Linked DNA regions of Homo sapiens: region 2 is linked to region 1. The links are contacts of gene promoters, found by promoter capture Hi-C in human tissues and cell types (Jung and others, 2019). All regions are on one chromosome and are shown on one strand. The core of a region is centred on a gene start or on the middle of the fragment in contact, and the rest is flanking DNA. Distances in the headings are between cores, read along the strand shown.

Evidence for each region. The method cuts DNA at HindIII sites, captures the fragments that hold promoters and counts their contacts. A contact is called where the count stands out against the background at its distance.
Region 2: a contact is called between a fragment that was not itself captured here and the fragment with the promoter of TADA3 in region 1, in 2 of the 25 tissues and cell types used here (heart right ventricle and thymus).

The regions. Positions count from the first base shown.
Region 1 is chr3:9,790,224-9,796,448 of GRCh38, forward strand. It overlaps TADA3 (transcriptional adaptor 3), which reads right to left and starts at 2,250. Exons shown (of 9, transcript NM_006354.5): 1 at 1,993-2,250; 2 at 1,037-1,270. The coding sequence starts at 1,243. It overlaps ARPC4-TTLL3 (ARPC4-TTLL3 readthrough), which reads left to right and starts at 2,325. Exons shown (of 12, transcript NM_001198793.1): 1 at 2,325-2,901. The coding sequence starts at 2,899. It overlaps ARPC4 (actin related protein 2/3 complex subunit 4), which reads left to right and starts at 2,859. Exons shown (of 6, transcript NM_005718.5): 1 at 2,859-2,901. The coding sequence starts at 2,899. It also overlaps a transcript of OGG1 not described here. RefSeq lists enhancers at 577-1,077, 2,182-2,708, 2,635-2,734, 2,709-3,235, 3,435-3,524 and silencers at 2,065-2,154, 2,215-2,504. The HindIII fragment of the contact is 18,412 bases long and covers 1-6,225 here.
Region 2 is chr3:9,525,241-9,531,774 of GRCh38, forward strand. The region is part of intron 2 of LHFPL4 (LHFPL tetraspan subfamily member 4); the gene reads right to left. Among named protein-coding and RNA genes, the nearest start is that of LHFPL4, 25 kb to the right of the region's middle. The HindIII fragment of the contact is 5,325 bases long and covers 964-6,288 here.

The DNA.
Region 1 (6,225 bases), core at 1,000-3,499:
AGTCACATACTGTTTAACAGAAGAGTCCTCTCAGCAAACCTTCACTTCGATGTCACCACTACTGAGATGCCTTCTCTCAATCAGTTACCCAGGTTCTTAGATGCTAAAATACAACTTGAGTCATAGCCTTCCTCAAGGAGGGTCCATGGATTCCCAGGGACAAGTTAATTCCATTCATCCTTTTAGGTCCAGTTGGCACCTCCTTCCTCCACAAGTCTCTGGCACTTCACAGCTCCAACGTGCACCCAATCGTGTTGTTTGGTCACACTGGAATGACCATCACACCTTGTCTCTTCAACTAGACCATAAGCTACTGAGGACCAGAAAGCCCACCTTAACCATCTCTATTTTGCAGAATACAGCATAGCGCCTGGCACACAAGGCTCAAGGCATCTTTATGCAGTGAATAAAGTCATCAGAGTAGCAAATAAATAACATCTGAAGTACTTACTTAGTGTCTGGCATTGGGCTGAGTTTTTGCAAAAAATTCTCTTTTAATCCTCACAAAAGCACTAAGGTAGGTCCTATTATTCACCCCACTTTGCAGATAGGGAAACTGACACTCAGAGATATGAGGCAACTTTCTCAAAGTCACATAGCTAGGAAACAGCAATGCTAGCAAGCGCTTATGCCAGGATTCAAATCCAGGTTTCCCCATTCCAGTTCCCTAGGACTGCTAACCACAACATCACATCACCTGGTATGTACTTGACTTTCTCACTTTCCTAGTTGCCAAGCTCCCTGACAGCCATAACTGTCCTAATTACCTTTCTCTAATGACTAGCATAGGACCCAGAACACAATGGGGGATGAGTGGGGTGCCAATAAAAGCTTACTGAATTAGAAATCTTGCAATTTAAGAGGATCATGCATATTCTTGTGTATTTTTTGTGTCATGCAAACCCAGTTTGCGTCTCTCTCCCTCTCCCCACAAACCCCTGTACCCCAAGTCTCAGCATATGGGGCTAACTCAATGACCCATCCCATAACTTGTTGCAGTCCATCTCTGGTGCTGGCCCCTCTCTGGGGTTATCACCTGGGTTTCGGCCTCAAGCACACGCAGGCGCCGGCTGGCAGAAGACAGCAGGGTCTCCAGCTCCAGCTGCAGGGTGTCCAGCTCCTCGATGCCGATGCCATCATCCTCAGAGCGTGCCAGCACTGCCGTGTAGCGGGGACAGACCTTCAGGTGATCCACAGACTTGAAGTCGTGGAACTGCAAGGGGCAGTCTTTCAACTCACTCATGGCCCAGGATATGGGGATCCTGTGGAGCTGGAGAGGACAGGGCCATTGATGGGAGACAAAGTGGTCTGAGAAAAGCCCAAGGGCTTCTTACCTCCAGGGACAGCCTCAAGGAAGCCCAGCTTCAGTCCCTTACTGACAAAATTGATGGCACAGTTCCTACTCACAGGGCACTTAACTGGGTACCAAGCTAGGTGCAGAGCACTTTATCAGTTTATCTCACTGAATTTCTCACTCAGCACCATGAACAAGGACCATTGTGATCTCGTTTTTACAGAGAAAGAAACTGAGACTCTGTAAGGGTGGGTATGTGCCTATGCTTCCAAGATGCAATTTGAACCCCGCTAGTCTTGAGTCTGCACCCTGATCACCATGCTATACTGCTATGCCTTGCCTCGCCTTTCTGATGCTCTTTCCTTCCCTTCTATTTCTCTTGGGTTCTGCTAAGACTTTGAGTTCCAAGCACCCCATTCTTACCATGTTCTCTGGGACTCTTGGCCTCTTTTCTTACCCTATTCCACCTTTCTCCCTTCTCTAGTCACTAACAGTGGTTTAGAACGTGGGCTGGTAAGCCAGACAGACCTGGGTTCAAGCCCAGGCTTTACCATTCTCTACTTATATGCCCCTGAACATGTTATTTGACCTTTTTCAGTCTCAGTTTTTCCATCTGTAAAATGGGGACAAAAGAAGTCTCGGTCTGTTTCCCCATTAAAAGTCTGAATCTGAAAAATGGGGATAACAATAGTACCTACCTCCCTGGGATGTTCTGAGGATTAAGAGATGATGCCCGTCAAGAGCCCAGTTCAGTGTCTGGCACAGAAGTGGGACTGTTTAATGGCTGGCCCCGCCCGGGGGTCGCCCAAATGTCCCGCCTTCAGAGTCCTCGTTCTCTAGGGACACCCTAGTGCGACCCCCGCCCCCTCTACCTCCTCGCTGCGGCCTCCTACGGCCCCAGGGGCCGCGGGAGGGGGCGGGGAGTTCCGGTCGATGTGAGCAACCGCCCCGGAACTGGCTATGGGCGGGCCCCTTGCAGTTGACGCGGGGGCGGGGAGTCAGCGAGGGCGAGCCTACTGGAGTTTGCCGGGGGTGGGAAGAAGGTGGGCCTCGAGCAAAGCCGCTAGAGGTGGGGTGCGGGTGGTCGGCCTCAGGCGAGCCCCGGGGCACAGCCCGGGGCGGGAGGCGGAGCTTGGCGGCCGAGATCTCCGCGCTGCAGTTAGCCCCGCCGAGCGCCAGGAGCTGCGGGTAGGAGGGGCGAGAGAAAGGATGGGGGTACAGAACCGGAAGAAACGAAGGGCTCGTCCGCTTCGGCTTGTCCTAATTTGGTGCCCAATCTGAAGCTGGGCTGTACCATTGCATACCTGGGGGAGGCTGTGGCAAAGGTGACAAGAAGGCCGAAGGCACAAAGGGAAGCTGCACCCATTCCTGGAGGAGCTTAAATAGTGACTCGAGTGCAAGAATTTAAAAATACCGAGACAGCCCTAGGTGGAAAACTTCCGGAAGGCCCAAGCGTTCGTAAGGGCTCTCTACCCCGCTCGGAGCATAGATGGTACCGTCCGGAAGTCCGGGCGGAGACCGTAGCTGCGCTTCTCGCGAAAGGGCAGGCATCGCGGGGCTGGCCACTTCCGTACTTCCGCTTTCCGGCCCAGCCAGCGCCCGCGATGGTGAGAGAGCCGGGCCCCCGGCCAGGGACCCCCGGCTGTTCGGCCTCAGGGCAGTGGGTCGGTGGGAGATGTGGCTTTGCCGCAGGGGCGCGGGGCCGAGGGATGTCCGGGGGTTGTGGGGACACGATGAGGGTGGGAAAAAGAGACGGGGCGGGGGCCCGAGGTGAGGAAGGGGCGAGTGGGGGTACTCCCTGGTATGAAGTGGGCCTTGTGGCTTCACGGTCAGCCTTCGAAGCAGGTAGGGGCTTTTCCTGAGCCCTGTAGGAACCCGGAAGTGGGGTCTCCTAGGCTCTTTGGAGCATTTCGAGGGTACGTAGTCGGCCTCTTAGCCTCTGAGGCATGAAGCAAGTCCACCTGCCTATCCACAGTGGAACTTCACGACATACGCCCTTTGTCCTCTTCTGCCTTCCTGACCCTACAGTTGCTTAAGGCAGGCGGCCACACTTCCTTATCCCATTCTTGGTACCTCCAGCCCTGCTTCCACCCCATTGGAGGATCTCTCGTGTTGCTTCCATTCAGGCCCTTCCTGGTCAGAACTGAACTGTGTCAGCCTTAGTGTATGTTAGCTGTGATACTGCTCATCCCTCCCTTCCTGGAAGTCCTCCCTTTTTCATACATGTGGGCCTTTTTCATACATGTGGGCCTTTTTCATACGTGTGGGCATTCCTGGGAGTTGTGACTTTGGATGACCATCTCCCTCTTCGTCACACCTTCCCTGGTGATACCGATCTAGTCTCCTGGCTTCGATAACTTTCTTCATTCTGATGACTCCTAATCTGGCTTCTCAGCTCTCTTTCAAGGTTTGCCTGGATATCTTGAAGAGACCTTGAAATTAGACCTCTAGTTCAAAACTCATATTCTATTCTAAATTTGTTCTTCCTCCTGGGTTCCCTATCCTGGCAAACTTTTGTGACCTCATGTCTCTGCTAAAAATCTGTATTTTTTTTTTCTAGTGGGGCACATGCCTCTTGATTTTTAAAAGTTCAAGTTTATTGAGGTATTACATGAGACTACATCTGTTTTATTCATGAAAGGACAGGCGTCACGGAGCCAGTCACCCTTTTTAGGTTTACTTTCTATAACTGTTGACAAAGGCCAGGCGTGGTGGCTCACGCTTGTAATCCCAGCACTTTGGGAGGCAGAGGCGGGCGGATCACGACGTCAGGAGATCGAGACCATCCTGGCTAACACGGTGAAACCTCTTCTCTACTAAAAATGCAAAAAATTAGCCGGGCGTGGTGGTGGGCACCTGTAGTCCCAGCTACTCAGGAGGCTGAGGCAGGAGAATGGCGTGAACCCAGAAAGCAGAGCTTGCAGTGAGTCGAGATCGTGCCACTGCACACCAGACTGGGCAACAGAGTAAGACTCCGTCTCAAAAAAAAAAGCGTTGCAAAAACTTGCTGGGTATGGTGGCATGCGCCTGTAGTACCATCCGCTCAGGACACTGAGGCAGGAGGATCACTTGAGCCCAGAAGTTCGAGGCCGTAGTACACTGTGATCACTCCTGTGAATAGCCACTGCACTTCAGCCTGGACAATATAGCAAGATCCCGTGTCTTAAAAAAAAAAAGTCAAGTTGTGTAACCACTACTGCAACCAAAATACAGAACATTTCCGTCACCCCAAAAAGTTCCCTCAAGCCCTTTTGTAATCAGTCCTCTCCTTCCCACCCCAGACAACTACTGATTTTTCCCCCCTGTAGTTTTGCCTTTTTCAGATTGTCATGTAAATGGAATTCTTTAGTATGCAGGCTTTTAAGTGTGGCTTCTTACCATAATACATTTGAGAGTCAACCATGTTGTGTGTATCAATAGTTACTCTTTTTTTATTACCAAGTAGTAGTTAATTGAATGGCTGGACCACAGTTCGTTGGAAGTGGTTTTTCTTTTTCTTTTTTTTTAAGACACAGTCTCGCTCTGTCACCCAGGCTGGAGCACAGTGGCGTGATCTCGGCTCACTGCAACCTCAGTCTCCTGGGTTCAAGCAATTCTACTGCCTCAGCCTCTCAAGTAGCTGAGATTACAGGCACCCGCCACAGCTAATTTTTTGTATTTTTAGTAGAGACGGGGTTTTGCCATGTTGGCCAGGCTGGTCTTGAACTCCTGACCTGAGGTGGTCCACCCACCTCGGCCTCCCAAAGTGCCGGGATTACAGGCGTGAGCCCCTGGGAAGTTTTTTTTCAGTTCCATTATCCACTCCATCTAATGTCAGTCCAACGCTTGTGATACTCTTTGCTTGTGATACAGTCTGCTGTATGTCTCACTTCCCTCTCCAAATCATTCTCCACAGAGCCATCATGCAGCTGCAGTCATGAACTTCCTCCTCAGAAAGCCCCAGTAGTTCCTTACCCCCTTAAGAGAAAAGCTAAACTTGGTAGCCTGGCATTCAAGATTCCCCATGATCTTACCTCAGCCTACCGCTGCAGCCTCATTTAGTGAATCTAAAATGCTTCTCATATACAGAAACATTGTACTCATTACTACTCTGGAACTCTTGCTGTCCTTTTGTGTTACTCTAATCTTAATTATTTCTTTCGCTTATTTATTCTACAGGAAATGAGTGAGACACTGTATATGTTAGGTACTGAGCTAGGTTGGAGGCTATATAGCTGTGAATAAAATAGATATGGTCTGTTGACCATGAGGTTTACAGCCTAGTAAAGGAGAAATCACTTACAAAGGCATGAAGGAGGGCAGGTGCAGTGGTTCATGTCTGTAATCCCAGCACTTTAGGAGGCCGAGATGGGCGGGTCACTTGAGGTCAGGAGTTTGAGACCAGCCTGGCCAACATGGCGAAACCCCATCTCTACTAAAAATACAAAAATTAACCAGGCACGGTGGTGCACACTTGTCATCTCAGCTATTCGCATGGCTGAGGCAGGTGAATCACTTGAACCCGGGAGGTGGAGGTTGCAGTGAGCCAAGATTGCACCACTGCGCTCCAGCCTGGACAACAGAGTAAGACTCTGTCTCAAAAAAAAATAAAAAAGGCCAGGCACGTTGGCTCACGCCTGTAATCCCAACACTTTGAGAGGCCGAGGTGGGCGGATTGCCTGAGGTCAGGATTTCAAGACAAGCCTGACCAACACGGTGAAACTCCGTCTCTACTAAAAATACAAAAATTAGCCAGGCATGGTGATGTGCGCCTGTAATCCCAGCTACTCGGGAGGCTGAAGCAGGAGAATCGCTTTAACCCAGGAGGCGGCGATTGCCGTGAGCAGAGATCGTGCCACTGCACTCCAGCGAGGGTGACAGAAGCGAGACTCCCTCTCAAAAATAAATATTAAGAAGACATGAAAGACATTTTTTTGTCAATTGTAATAAAT
Region 2 (6,534 bases), core at 2,376-4,875, 260 kb before region 1:
TACAAAAGTGTGGGAGCCCCCCTAATGACTGGGTCCCCTGGGAGTTTTTAATGTCTCACACTTGTCCACACAGCCTCCAGCAATTTGTCAATTACAATTCAGTTTTCCCTTGCCTGGGCATTGGTTCCCATAAAGGTTTCTGCTCATGGGTTCCTTCTGCTCCTGTAAGTTGTGATTCTCTGCACTCACCTGTCTGTCGCTCCAATTTTGGGGGCAGCAGTTTGCCCTGTGACCTTACGTCTCTCATGGATCTAGCAAGAGTGTTTATTTTTCAGTTTGTTTGGCTTTTTACTTGCTGTTAGGATGGAGTAGCAGCTTCCAAGCTTCTTACATCCCTGACCAGAAACCAGAAGTCCACTCATCTGTGTTTTTTATAAAAAGGATATGCATACTATGAAATGCATTGCAACAATGAGAAAGAATGGGTAGCACTTTAAGGACTGAAAGAGCAAGATTTCTTTGACACAACGTCATCTGAAAAAAAGCAATCATAATTTTAAAAAAAATCCAACGTGCTTATACGTTTGAAAAAATGGGAAAAAATGGGAAACATGCCAGACACTGTTTTAACTGTTTTATGTGTATTAATTCATTGTTACCTCATTTTTATATGTTATGAAACAGGCACAGAAAGGTTAAATGATGAGTCTGACCTAGCCTTCCTGGGGCCTGAGTCCATGCTCTTAACTACCTCTCTTTTTCTGACATATTGAGCAGGTAGAAAGACCATACGTAGGCATGATCCCTTTAGTTTTAAAAAAAGTAGGGGATGGTATATACATACAATGAAATATATTGAACCTTAAAAAGGAAAGAAATTCTGACACATGATACAACATGGAGGAATCCTGAAGACACTTTGCTAGGTATATAAATAAGCCAGTCATGAAAGGACAAACACTGTATGATTCCATTTATATGAGCTACCTAGAGTAATCAAATTCACAGAGACAGAAGGTGAAATGGTAGCTGCCAGGGCTCGGGGGAGGGAGGAATGCGGAGTTAGTGTTTAATGGGCACAAAGTTTCAGTTTTGCAAGATTAAAAGAGTTCTGGAGATGGATGGTGGTAATGACTGAGCAATAATGTGAATGTACTTGATGCTAGAGAATTGTGCACCAAAAGACAGTAAAAATGATAAATTTTATGTCATGTGTATTTTACCACAATAAGAAAATGCGGGAAAAAAGAATGTCCCCGTACAAATCTGACAATAGTTTGAATAACTGTCTTTATTTTGCTCACAATTGTAGTCGGCTGTGGTCTAACATCCCTCATATCATCTCCCTCCTTCAAGCATCTCTTAAAATGATGGTGAATGTAATGAGTTTAATTGCGTTCCCTCAAAAAGATATGTTCAAGTCCTAATCCCTGGTACCTGTGAATGTGATCTCATTTGGAAACAGGGTACCTGCAGATATAATTAAGACACAAGACAAAATAAGGTCATTAGGGTGGGCTCTAAGTCCAATCACTGGTGTCCTTATAGGAAGAGAAGAGAAACACACACACACGTGAAGACCAGAGATTGGAGTGATGCTGCTGTAAGTCAAGAACACAAAGGAAGGCTGACAGCCAAAAGAAGGGAGATGAGATCAGGGAAGCTTCCCTCCCAGAGTCTGCAGGGGGCATGAGGCCCTGCCCACACTTTGATATTGGACTTCTTAGCCTCCAGAACAAGAATAAATTTTTGTTGTTTTAAGAAAAAAAGAAAAAAAAAGGTTAAAATGGTAAATTTCATGTACATGTATTTCACTGAAAGGAAGGAAGGAAGAGAAGGAGGGAGGGAAGGAGACAGAAGGAAGGAAAGGAAAGGGAAGGGAGAAAGAAGTAAGCAGGGGTACACAGAAGATGACATGATATAGTTTCCTTATGGATATATATGTAAATGTGCAGAAAAAGATCAGGGAAGATAGAAATGAAGTTTATAAGAGTGGTGGCCTCTGGGTGGGGCTTGGGTGGGGACTTTAGTCTTTTTGTAATATTTCAGCTTTTTACAGAGTGGGTATATTCATATATTACTTGTGAAATTTAAAAACATAATTTTGACCAGGCATCGTGGCTCATGCCTGTAATCCCAACACTTTGGGAGGCCAAGGCAGGTGGACCACTTGAGCTCAGGAGTTTGAGACTAGCCTGGGCAACATGGCAAAACTCTGACACTACTAAAAAAAATAATAATAATACAAAAAGTTAGTGGGCATCGTGGTGCATGCCTGTAGTCTCACTTATTTGGGAGTGCTGAGGTGGGACGATTGCTTGAGCCCAGGAGTCAAAATCAGCCTGGGCAACATGGTGAAACCCCATCTCTACAAAAAATTAGTCAGGCATGGTACAAGCGCCTGTAGTCTCAGCTATTTGGAAGGCTGAGGTGGGAGGATTGCTTGAGGTCAGAAGGCAGAGGTTGCAGTGAGCCAAGATCATGCCACTGCACTGCAGCCTGGGCAACAGAGCCAGATGTTGTCTGAAAAACAAAAACAAAACCCATATACAGTAGACTAGTGTGGCGGAATAATTTTTTTAAAAACCCAGAAAACCAATAATTGTACAAATTAATTTTTCAAATACAAACACACACACACACACACACACACACACACACACACACACAGAGGCATACCCTGGGGATATTGCGAGTTTGGTTCCAGACCACCGTAATAAAACAAATATTGCAATAAAGCAAGTCACACAAATTATTTGGTTTCCCAATGCATATAAAGTCATGTTTACACTATATACTAATAGTGTGCAATAGCATATGTCTAAAAAAAACCCAATGTGTATACCTTAGTTTTAAAATACTTTATTGCTAAATTATCATCTGAGCCAGCCTTCAGCAAGTTGCAATGAAGGTTTGAGTAGCTGTAGCAATTTCTGAAAATAAGATAACAACGAAGTTTGCCACATCGATTGACTTTTCTTTCACAAAAGTTTACTCAGTAGCATATGATGCTATTTGATAGCATTTTATCTACAGAACTTCTTTCAACATTGGAATCAATCCTCTTAAATGCTACTCCTGCTTTATCAACTAAGTTTATGTAATATTTTAAATCTTTTGTGGGCATTTCAACAGTGCTCACAGCATCTTCACCAGGAGTAGATTCCATCTCAAGAAACCACTGTCTGCTCATCCATAAGAAGCAACTCCTCATCCATTCAAGTCTGATCATGAGATTGCAGCAATTCAGTCCCATCTTCAGGCTCCACTTCTAATGCTAGTTCTCTTTCTATTTTCGCCACACCTTCAGTTACTTCCTCCACTGAAGTATTCAGCTCCTCAAAGTCATCCATGAGGGCTGGAATTAACCTCTTTCAAACTCCTGTTCATGTTGACATTTTGACCTTCTCTCATGAATCACCAATGTTCCATTTATTATTATTATTATTTTTTGAGACGGAGTCTTGCTCTGTCGCCCAGGCTGTAATGCAGTGGCGCAATCTCAGCTCACTGCAACCTCTGTCTCCCGGGTTCAAGCAATTCTCCTGCCTCTACCTCCCAAGTAGCTGGGATTACAGGCGTGTGCCACCACACTGGCTAATTTTTGTATTTTTAGTAGAGATGGGGTTTCACCGTGTTAGCCAGGCTCGTCTTGAACTCCTGACCTCAGGTGATCTGCTCACCTTGACCTCCCAAAGTGCTGGGATTACAGGCATAAGCCACTGCACCCAGCCCCCCAACTTTTTTTTTTTTTTGAGATGGAATCTCACTGTGTGGCCCAGGCTGGAGTGCAGTAGCACGATCTTGGCTCACTGCAACCTCCACCTCCCGGGTTTAGGAAAATCACCAATGTTCTTTTTTTTTTTTAGATGGAGTCTCACTCTGTCACCCAGGCTGGAGTGCAGTGGCACTATCTCAGCTCACTACAACCTCTGCCTCCCAGGTTCAAGCGATTCTTCTGCCTCAGCCTCCCAAGTAGCTGGGACTACAGGTGCGTGCCACCACACCCAGCTAATTTTTGTATTTTTAGTAGAGACGGGGTTTCACCATGTTGGCCAGGCTGGTCTCGAACTCCTGATCTTGTGATCCACCCACCTTGGCCTCCCAAAGTGCTGGGATTACAGATGCGAGCCACCGCGCCCGGCCATGAATCACCAATGTTCTTAATGGCATATCTAGAGTGGTAAATTCTTTCCAGAAGGCTTTCAATTTGCATTGCCCAGATCCAACAGAGGAACAACTTATCTATGGCAGCTATAGCCTTTCAAAATGTATTTCTTAAATATTAAGACTTGAAAGTCAAAATTACTCCTTGACTCATGGGCTACAGAATGGATATTGTGTTAGCAGGCATGAAAACAGCATTAACCTCCTTGTACATCTTCCTGAGAGCGCTTGTGTGACCAGGTGCATTATAAATGAGCACTAATATTTTGAAAGGAATCTTTTATTTTATTTATTTATTTTTTTTTGAGATGGAGGCTCATTCTTTCACCCAGGCTGGAGTGCAGTGGCGTGATCTCGGCTTACTGCAACTTCTACCTCCCGGGTTCAAGCAAGTCTCTGCCTCAGGCTCCTGACAGCTGGGATTACAGGCGCCTGCCACCACACCTGGCTAATTTTTGTATTTTTAGTAGAGATGGGGTTTCACCATCTTGGCCATGCTGGTCTTGAACTCCTGACCTTCTGATCCACCCACCTCAGCCTCCCAAAGTGCTGGGATTACAGGCATGAGCCACTGTGCCTGGCTCTTTTTTTTTTTTTCCTATCCTGAGCAATAGGTCTCAACAGTGGACTTAAAATATTGAGTAAACCATGCTGTAAACACATGTGCTGTCATTCAGGCTTTTTCCATTTATAGAGCATAGGTGGAATAGAGTTAGCATAATTCTTAAGGGCCCTAGAATTTTCACGTGGTAAATGAGCACTGGCTTCAACTTAAAGTCACCAGCTGCATGGGTCCCTAATGTGAGAGTCAGCCTGTCCTTCGAAGCTTTAAAGCCAGGCATTGACTTCTCCTCTCTAGCTATAAAAGACCTAGATGGCATCTTCTTCCAACAGAAGGCTGTTTCATCTACACTGAAAATCTGTTGTTTAGTCTACCCATCTTCATCAATGACCTTAGCCAGATCTTCTAGTGACTTGCTGTAGCTTCTACATCACCACCTGCTGCTTTACTTTGCACTTTTATGCTATGGAAATGGCTTATTTTATTAAACCACATGAACCAACCTCTGCTAGCTTCCAACTTTTCTTCTGCAGCTTCCTCACCTCTCTCAATCTTCACAGAATGGAACAGAGTTAGGGCCTTGCTCTGGATTAGGCTTTGGCTTAAAGGAATGCTGTGCTGGTTTGATCTTCTATCCAGACTGCTAAAGCTTTCTCCATATCTGAAATAAGGCTGTTTTCTTTCTCATCATTCATGTGCTCACCGGAGCAGCACTTTATTTCATTCAAGAACTTTTCCTTTGCATTCACAACTTGGCCAACTTGCACAAGAGCCCTCACTTTTGGCTTATCTCAGTTTTGACACACCTTCCTCACTACTTCATCATTAACAGCTTTTGTTTTTAAATATTTATTTATTTACTTATTTTTTAGAGACAGAGTCTTACTATGTTGCCCAGGCTGGTCTTGAACTTCTGATCTCAAGAAATCCTCCTGCCTCAGCCTCCTGCAAAGTGCTGGGATAACAAGCGTGAGCCACCAGGCCCAGCCCACATTTCAATCTTTTGATTTAACGTGAGAGATGTATGATTCTTCCTTTCACTTGAACACTTAGAGGCCATAACAGGGTTATTAACTGGCCTAATTTCAAAACTGTTGTGTCTCAGGGAATAGGAAAGCCAAAGGAGGGAGAGAGACAGGGGAACAGCCAGCAGGTGTAGCAATCAAAATACGCACATTTATTTATGAAGCTTGCTGTCTTACATGGGCGCAGTTCATGGTGCCCCAAAACAATGACAATAGTAACATCAAAGATCACTGATCACAGATCACCATAAAAGATATAATCATAATAGAAAGGTTTGAGATATTGTGAAAATTTCAAAAATGTGACACAGAGCCACGAAGTGGGCACGTGCTGCAGGGAAAATAGTTCCGACAGACTTGATTGACTCAGGGTGCCACAAACCTTCAATATATTAAAAATACAATATCTGTAAAGCACAATAAAGCAAAGCACAATAAAACGAGGTATGCCTGCATATACGCTTGAGTATCTATAAGCATGTCTGGAAGGATACAGAAGCAGCTTAATGACGGTTACCTCTGAGAAGTAGCCTGGGGGAGAGAGGGAAGGAGGCAGGGAAGGAGAGCTTTTAAGAAATAAGAAACTCAGCTGGGCATGGTGGATCATGCCTGTAATCCCAGCATTTGGGAGGCCGAGGCGGGTGGATCATCTGAAATAACAATTCGAGACCAGCCTGGCCAACGTGGTGAAACCCCGTCTCTACTAAAAATACAAACATTAGCCAGGTGTGTGGTGCGCACCTGTAATCACAGCTACTTGGGAGACTGAGGCAGGAGAATTGTTTGAACCCGGGAACGGGAGGCTGCAGTGAGCCAAGATGGGCCACTGCACTCCAGCCT